2 separate regions of the Homo sapiens genome follow, and region 1 is linked to region 2. Evidence: promoter capture Hi-C in 16 types of primary human blood cells and fetal thymus (Javierre and others, 2016). All regions are on one chromosome and are shown on one strand. Each heading gives the region's core, a stretch centred on a gene start or on the middle of the fragment in contact. The rest is flanking DNA. Distances are from core to core; before and after follow the strand shown.

The links. The method cuts DNA at HindIII sites, captures the fragments that hold promoters and counts their contacts. A CHiCAGO score of 5 or more calls a contact.
Region 1: a contact is called between a fragment that was not itself captured here and the fragment with the promoter of WDR35 in region 2, in 1 of 17 cell types (fetal thymus). The highest score is 5.0, in fetal thymus.

The regions. Positions count from the first base shown.
Region 1 is chr2:20,239,909-20,244,523 of GRCh38, reverse strand. It overlaps the pseudogene DRG1P1. Among named protein-coding and RNA genes, the nearest start is that of SDC1, 17 kb to the right of the region's middle. RefSeq lists silencers at 1,979-2,208, 3,243-3,389. The HindIII fragment of the contact is 3,794 bases long and covers 1-3,585 here.
Region 2 is chr2:19,987,697-19,992,174 of GRCh38, reverse strand. WDR35 (WD repeat domain 35) reads left to right here and starts at 2,070. Exons shown (of 27, transcript NM_020779.4): 1 at 2,070-2,183; 2 at 2,893-3,010. The coding sequence starts at 2,160. WDR35-DT (WDR35 divergent transcript) reads right to left here and starts at 1,971. Exons shown (of 3, transcript NR_110235.1): 1 at 1,681-1,971. MATN3 (matrilin 3) reads left to right here. Exons shown (of 8, transcript NM_002381.5): 8 at 1-123. RefSeq lists a silencer at 1,850-1,929 and enhancers at 2,090-2,139, 1,770-2,273, 2,290-2,339. The HindIII fragment of the contact is 12,234 bases long and covers 1-4,478 here.

The sequences.
Region 1 (4,615 bases), core at 439-2,938, 250 kb before region 2:
AGTTGAGCAGAAGCCTTCCACCCAGTTCAGGATCATATCTTTTTTGTGTAAACAGCATGTAGCTCATGGCCAGAAACAGGTTATGGAAGGAATGCTGAAGAGTGGAGGAAAATCCACCACAAATCATTCCATGACCAAATAGGACCATATGGAGAACATTCAGTCTTATCTTTTGTATTGTTTTGTTTTTTGAGACAGGGTCTCACTCTGTCGTCCAGGCTGTAGTGCGCTGGCATGATCACAGCTCACTGCAGCCTCAACCTCCCAGGCTCAAGCGATCTTCCCACCTCAGCCTCCTGAGTAGCTGGGACAATAGGTATGCACCACCGTGCCCAGCTCATTTTTAAATTTCTTGGTAAAGACAAGAGTCTTGTCATGTTGCCTGAATTGGTCTCAAACTCCTGGACTCAAGTGATCCTCCTGCCTCAGCATCCCAGAGTGCTGAGATCACAGGCATGAGCCACTGTGTCTGGCTGGTCTTACCTATTTTTTGAGAAGGCATGAGGTCCTAGGCGGGAGGGAAAAAAAGTAATTCCTAACTCAAAGCCTTTAAATCTAGACAGGAATCAAGATTTCAAAACTAATCAGTGCCTTGGGCTTGGAAGGGAAAGGTAAAATGAAGAGGATGAGGGGATGGCTTTGGGGGATTGAGAGCAAGGTGGGTGCAGCAGCCAGTGCATTTTCATAGTCTTATTTATTGAGCAACTACTTTGCGTCAGGTTTCATTTTTTGTTTGTTTTGAGATAGAGTCTTGCTCTGTCACCCAGGCTAGAGTGCAGAGTGCAGTGGCACAATCTCGGCTCACTGCAACCTCCACCTCCCAGGTTCAAGCGATTCTGCTGCCTCAGCCTCCCAAGTAGCTGGGATTATAGGCGTGGCCCACCATGCCCACCTAAGCCTAATTTTTGTATTTTTAGTAGAGACGGGGTTTCACCATGTTGGCCAGGCTGGTCTTGAACTCCTGACCTCAAGTGATCCGCCCACCTTGGCCTCCCAAAGTGCTGAGATTACAGGCATGAGCCACCGTGCCCGGCCTGTGTCAAGTATTCTTGATGCTGAGGATACAGCCCTCAAGAGGTGCACACCCCAGTGGAGGGAGAAACAGAATGAGATTCTTGATACAAGCAATGCTTCAGTTAACAATAGGGGTCATCACAGATTCTTGAGCAGGTGAGTGACAAGTGCGGTGGTGTGGAGGACCCAGCACAGGCTGGCAGAGCAGCAGTAGAGAGGGACTGGAGGCAGGGGAGGTAGCAGTGCCAGTTACAGAGCTGAGGGGCTCCCCGAGACATGGGCGGAGTCTCATCTCTTTCTTGCTTTATTCCCACCCCTGGCCTTTTATGGCCAGAAGCCTTGGAAAGCCGGGTCACACCTGGTGGGCCCCTTCCTATGGCAGGGATGAGGACAAAAGCACGTGTATGGGCTCGCCCTGGAGAAGAGGAGGGGTGTCTGGGAGTCCTCTTCTGCCCTGCTCCTTCAAAAGTCAGTTCTGGTTTGAGCACTGGAGTCTGGGCTTGGAAGGCACCTGTGAGCAGAGGAGGGAGGGGGTCACCCCCCAGAGTTTGGAAGGGTGACAGCTTCATCTATATTCCATTACCCACCCTCTTCTACAGTAGGGTAGAAAACTAGAGAAGGGACCTGGAAGACAAAGAGTCAGCTTTGTCACAGGAAGAGGCAGCTGTAGACACAACGGCAGCCACCAGGTGACCTAGAGCCCTCCCCACAGGCCCAAGCCTGGCTCACGCAGCAGGGTGGCAAGGGCCTGGGGGCGGCCTTAGAAAGCTGCAAAAGTGGCTGTGCGCGGTGGTGATCCCAGCACTTTGGAAGGCCGAGGCGGAGGCTCGCTTGAGTCCAGGAGTTCGAGGCCAGCCTGGGAAACATGGCGAGATGCCCCTGCCTTCCCTATAAAAAAAATAAAAATAATTTTTTTTAAAAAAGCAACTGACCCGCCTGGGTGACGCCCTCAAGCCCCCCCCCCCCCGCCCTTTCCCCACCCGGGCTTCAGTTTGCTCATTGGGGCCTAATCCAGCAGGGCTGTTGCGAAGCTGCCTGGGAGACACCAAGGGGGACCCCCGCCCCGTCCGCCGAGAGCGCCCCCTGGCGGCCCGGCCCTCCCCTGCGCCGCGGGTCCGGGGGCCCTTCCCAGTCCAGGCGCGGCGCACCCTGGGGGATCCGTCCAGCTCCAGAAGTTTCTTCGTCTAAATTACTTGGAGTTGATCTTTCTAAACAGGATTGCTCAGACACACCCTGCCTTCTCGAACAAGGAAAGAACTCTACCCATCCCACTCAACTGCCATGTACGACCGCCTGCAGCCTCATCACAGGGCACTTCCCATAACATCCTACCACCGCGGACCCCAGGCCTCGCCCCTAAAGCCCGAGCCCTGACATCCTGCAGCCTGGAATCGCACATCTCCAGTCACGTGGCCACTGGCCCCGTTTCGCCAAACATGTCCGGAACCGAACCCATCTTCTTGCACCAAACCTTCTTGTGCTCTTCCTCTTCCCTTCCTGAACAAGTCGGCCCTAAAGCCACAGGTGGGGCGACTAAATTTTTTCGTATAAATAAATCCCAAACATTGCATAGGACATAATTATACATTTTATACTAAAAAAAAATGTTCATCTGAAATTCAAATTTAACTGGGCATTCTGTTTTTATTTGCTAAATCTGACAACCCTACTGCCCCTGTCTCTGGCCAGCCAGTTCCTCCTCGTCTCCTGGAGCCAGCCCTGGAGCTTCCCTAGACAGATTCCAGGGACAGCTCCTCCAGGCACAAGGTCATGATGGCGGTGATGGCAAATTATTGCAATGGCTTGTTTTCTTACGTTTCTCCACCCACACTGTGAGTTGTTGGAAGGCCAGACTGTGTGTTTCTCTCTCTTTACCCCAAAGCCTGAAGTTAGGTGCTTAGGTAATGCTCACCACTGTAAAGCCAGTAGGAAGTAAGCGCGTTTTTCTGTTTTGTTTTTTGTTTGTTGTTGTTGTTGTTTTTGAGATGGAGTCTCGCTCTGTTGCCCAGGCTGGAGTACAGTGGCGCAATCTCGGCTCACTGCAACCTCCGCCTCCAGGGTTCAAGCGATTCTCCTGCTTCACCCTCCCGAGTAGCTGGGATTACACCCGCACGCCACCATGCCTGGCTAATTTTTGTATTTTTAGTAGAGACGGGGTTTCACCATGTTGGTCAGGCTGGTCCCAAACTCCTGGCCTCGTGATCTGCCCGCCTCAGCCTCCCAAAGTGCTGGGATTACAGGCATGAGCCACCACGCCCGGCCCTAAACGCGTTTTTAAAGGCGGTGTCTCTCGGTGAAGAGCTGTCACACAATGGTGCTCTCAGGGGTCTGTGGGCCACTGTACCGAGGCCTACACTCCCAAGTTCATTGAGTTACTTTTGAAAAGCATTATACTTGAGCTAGTTTGCCCGCGGGTGTGTGAAGGGAGACAGTCAGTGTGGAGGCCACAGGGTACTCGCCACGATGAGCAGCACCCTAGCTAAGATCGCGGAGACAGAAGAGGAGATGGCTTGGACTCAACAAGGCCACAGCACACCACCTGGGGCTGCTTAAGGCTCGTCTTGCTAAGCTTCGTCGAGAACTCACTACTCCAAAGGGTGGTGGTGGTGGTGGAGGTGCAGAAGAAGGTTTTGATGTGGCCGAGACAGGTGATGCTTGAATTGGATTTGTTGGTTTTCCATTTGTGGGGAAGTCGACACTGCTTAGTAACCTGGCAGGGGTATATTCTGAGGTGGCAGCCTATGAATTCACTACTCTGAGCACTGTGCCTGGTGTCATCAGATACAAAGGTGCCAAAATCCAGCTCCTGGATCTCCCAGGTATTATTGAAGGTGCCAGGGATGGGAAAGGTAGAGGTCGTCGATCATTGCAGTGGCCCGAACCTGTAACTTGATCCTGATTGTTCTGGATGTCCTGAAACCTTTGGGACATAAGAAGATAATTGAAAATGAGCTGGAAGTCTTTGGCATTCACTTGAACAGCAACCACCGCCCCCCAACAATGGCTTTAAGAAGAAGGACAAGGGAGGCATTCATCTCACAGCCACTTGCCCACAGAGTGAGCTGGATGCTGAAACTGTGAAGAGCATTCTGGCTGAATACAAGATTCATAATGCCGATGTGACTCTACGTAGTGATGCTACAGCTGATGACCTCATTGATGTGGTGGAAGGAAACAGAGTTTATATCCCCTGTATCTATGTTAAATAAGATTGACCAAATGTTATGTTAAATAAGATTGACCAAATGTTATCTTATGTTAAATAAGATTGACCAAATCTCCATTGAGGAATTGGATAGCACTATAAGGTGCCTCACGGTGTACCCATCTCTGCCCATCACCACTGGAATTTTGATGACCTATTGGAAAAGATCTGGGACTATCTGAAACTAGTGAGAATTTGCACCAAACCCAAAGGCAATTACCAGGTTACACATCCTCAGTGGTACTTCCTTACTCCAGGACCACAGTGGAGATTTCTGCATGAAGATTCACAAAAATCTTATCAAAGAATTTAAATATGCTCTGGTCTGGGGTCTCTCTGTGAAACACAATCCTCAAAAAGTGGGTAAAGACCATACGTTGGAGGACAAGGATGTCA
Region 2 (4,478 bases), core at 821-3,320:
TGCTCAATTCTGTTTTTCGTTTGCATTGTCTTTAATATAATAAAAGTTATTACCTTTACATATTATCATGTCTATTTTTGATGACTCATCAATTTTGTCTATTAAAGATATTTCTTTAAATTATACTGAATTAACAGTTATTTTGATATTCAACAGTTTCTTATCAAAAGACAGAAGTTTGATTCTCCTCCTATAGTTTAATCTCACACTCCTGAGGCTAAAAGTGTAAGTTCAGGTTCAAAAGAAAGGCTTCAATATAAAATTATCTAAATTTGGATAAAATAATGATGAGCTTTACATTAATATAAGCTCCTGAGAAGCAAATATATCCTACAGATGTAAATATAAAATATAAACTTTAAGGAAGGAACAAAAACTAAATATACCAAGGAAATATATAAAGCATCTCTTACTTTTCAAAAATTTTGAAAGGGTATGACATAGAGCTACAGTAGTATTTTCCAGACTTTTTTGAGCCCAAAATCAGTAATACATATTAATATACCACAGAGAAATGGTGGTATAGAAGGAATAAATGAGAGTTCATGTGCAAGAAGGGAAAGATAAAGAGAGGTGAGTTTTCAGGTGTCACCATCAGTAACTAGCTTCAACTAATTATGTCTTGACCAGTTTATTGGAAACTCCTGGGTTAGATAATACTAATTTGTCTCATGCGTCCAGTATAGGGAGCCTATGGACAGGGGCCAATGTATCTTAAACAGACACACAAACAATGGAAAGCAAACATTATCTGAATGGGATTGGGTTAAGTTTGGAAAGAATTCCTCATGGAGACTGATTTGTGCTGGTTTGGCTAGGCACAACTGGCCTGTTAAGAGGGTAGGACCATATATAAAGTGGCTTGGGAAGCAGAGCCGGATGGAATGTTGCCCTGCAGAAAGCATATTGGCTTACTTGAGGTGGGGGCTCCCTAGTAAAAACATTTAGGATTGAGGGAAGATCTGATTTTGGATGGAGTTTAGATTTGCTAGGAAAGGCACTAGGGACTATTGTCAATTCTATAATAGATTGTGCTGGGTGAGACAAATCACCCAGGTCAAAGGATTGGAGGATTTTTATTTTATTTTTGTCTGAGATGGGAAAAGACTCCAAGTGGGGAAATTAACTACTGATGCATAAATTACATGCTAGATTATGGTAAAAGGGAAAACCAGAAATAAAAACATAGGTGAGACCAAATAATTTCATGAGTGGTTCTACTTGGATTTCTGCCCTATGCCTTAGACTTTGAGGCTTTGTAACTCTCAAGCATTCCAAAAGGACAAAGGAGAATGAAGAAAGAAGGTAAGAAAAAGAAGAGAATATGTAACAGTCGACTCTAGACGAGAAAACACCAAACGCTCAAATATTTGTAAAATGGGAGGCCATGCCCCAATAGCAATTGTACGCTGTAATTACCCAACGTTTACAGAAATTCCTTTAAAAGGACCCTCGGGGTTGCGGTAATAATTAAACTGTTAAAAAATATCAAAACAAGCGGAATAAACAAAATCTTCTATTCCTAAATTGCTCTAGAGGTTCTCCAATCCCCAAAGACACAGAGAAGGGTTGTAAGATCTCAGTACGCACATTTGCACTTTCATCTGGCCAGTGGCGCCAGCCTATCAAATACAGTAAATGGCTTTTCCCTTTCAAGAATGTTGGAACTTTGGAACTTACAAAATACTAAATAATTTGCCCTTATTCGAACGGGCGCCTCTCCTCTTAGGTTTATAGTAATGCCACCTGAGGCGCGGCTCCATAGCGATCATCACAGGTGTGGCGGGAGGGAGGGCGGCAGTGACCACGAGACGGGGCGCAGAGGGCGAGCGCACGGCTGGCAGTGACAGGTCGCGACCCAGCTCCTTGCGGAGAGCAGAAAGGCCCAGACGCCAGGGAACAGGACTAGCCCAGCTACCGCCTCGCGCCTCGCGCCCTGCGCCCACAAACCCATCGACGTCCGCGCAGGCGCACTACGCCGGTGCCCGGTGCGAGGGCGTCACCGGAAGTGTCCCGCGGCGCCCCGGATGCGACCGGGCAACAGCGGTTGCCAGGGCGACGGGAGCTTTCCGGAGCTGCTGGTACTCCCGATTGGAGACGTAGAACCGTTACTTGTCGAGGGCCTTAGCGGCCGCCGTGACCCTCTCGGGGATCCCACGATGTTCTTCTACCTGAGCAAGAAAGTGAGTTTCCTGGGGGGCGTCCTCGTTTCTCCGCCATTCCCGCAGCCTGCGGCGATTCCCGCTGCCTTCCCGAGAAGCCAGGCTCCTTCACCCGGTCCTGGTCGTGGCTTCGCCATTCCGCAGCCATCCTTCCCGCCGGGTCCAGCCTCCGACCTCTTCCTGCGGTTCCCAGAGCCTCAGTCTTTGGCCGAGCTTGCTGCCCTCTCGCAGCACTCTCCCATTCCTGCCCCTGGCTAGGTCCTTTTGGGTGGCTTGAGGATAAGTCGCCACGTGCTACCCTATGTTTCCTCCTCCACTTGTTGCTGATCCACGTGATTTAAACTCTTTGGATCACCACGAGCCATTGGGCAAGAGAAAAGAAATAACAATAGGATAGCCTAAGTTGTAGGTAAAAAGGAAGAGGGACTGGTGGTATGGATTTATACCCTCTCCCCGTCCTCCCTTTAAAAAATCCATCCGGTGAGACTCTGGCGTTGGCTTCCTCCGCAGTCACTATCCTTCTCTTTTGTGCACTTCTTTCCCTCTTTCCCAAATGCTAGAGCCCGGGTCAGTTCAGGGGACCATGCCCATTTTCACAACAGCTCATTTTTTTTCTGCAAGGCCGTTCGTTTTTCTTCTTGGAAGATTTTCTTCAGCTTTCATCTCCTGCAGACTTACTTCCCAGCTCCTTCGTGAAAAGTTGCTAGTGCGGCTGTGGTTGCTTTTTCAGATTTCCATTCCCAATAACGTGAAGCTGCAGTGTGTATCCTGGAACAAGGAACAAGGGTTCATAGCATGCGGTGGTGAAGATGGATTACTGAAAGTTTTGAAATTAGAGACGCAGACAGGTAAATGAATGCAAGCCCACATGTTTGGTAGTAAATTGGCTAATGTTATTTGTTCAGTGCGGTCTACTCATGTTATCTGTCAATATGCAGTTCTGATTATTTTAAAGGGAAAACTACCAAAACATTTTATGGTGTTTTTCTGGAGTATATTTGCAATAAAGTTCAGAGAATGTTGAATGTAAACATCGGATGGTTTTTGCTGAGTTATTAATGGAAAATGAAAAATAATGAAGAATGAAAATAAGTCACTGTGTTATGCTATGTCTAATTATTGTACTATATTATTAGGAGTCTAAAAGAAATCCTGTGAGTCAACATTTCACTAAGAAAATCTGGCAGATTGTTTACAGGTCTGTGTCATCCTTTCTGCTTATCAGATGCATTAATGGTTATTCACCTAGTGTCCAAGAACAGAAAATGGGATACGTTTTACATTTCTATTAGTAGGTCTCTTGTCTTTGCTGCTTGATTTCTTTCTTTATCTAGTTCTCTGGAATCACAGCAAACAGCTTCCCACTTCTTAGCCCCCCTAGATTGAAGACCTAGATAAGGTAATTGGAGTTAAATCTCAGCTCTTCCACAAGACTACTGAATGACTTTCAACAAGTTAGCTGAGGATCTTACTACTTTAGTTTAGTCTTCCATAAAATGAAAATGTAGGGGGTTAAACTGCATTACATTTTTGGATTCCTTACAACATAGCTTCTCAAACTGTATTAGGTATAAGAATCACTGGAAGAGGTTGTTAAGATGGATTTCATGCTCTACCCCCACACAATAGACCCGGGATGGGGCCTGAGAATTTCCATTTCTAGTGAAGCTGAGTTGCTGGTCCTCAGACCGCACTTTGAATAGCATTACCTTACAACTTTGAATGCGGTATGAATAATAAATACTTATTGACGATTTTCCATGTAGTGGATGTTTAACCTTCACAATCTTATTTGACTTCACAATAATCTTGGGCAGTAGGTATTCTAGGTGAGAAAATTGAGGCTCTGAGCTGTTAACTGCCCTAGGTCACGCAGCCAGTAAGTGGCGGAACAAGGATGTGAAACTAAGTTTGTCTCACATTCAAGTCCTTGTTTTTAACCACTACACAAAGGGCTAGTGGACAGCCTAAGTAAAGAAGAGTACCAATTAAAGTTTGGCTTATGCTGTTTTATAGTTCAATCTGTCAGTGCTTTAGTTTTTTAAAACTGTGTTAAAAGAAAGTTTTTCTCTGTTTCTTAAATGTGTATATAGATATATATATACGTGTGTATATATATATATGTGTGTCTGTATATACATACTTTTGCTTACAATATTTGGCAAGTTTTTTTTTTTTTTTTTTTTTTTGAGACAGAGTTTCGCTCTGTTGCCCAGGCTGGAGTGCAGTGGCTGGATCTCGGCTCATTGCAAGCTCCGCCTCCTGGGTTCATGCCATTCTCCTACCTCAGCCTCCCAAGTAGCTGGGACTACAGGT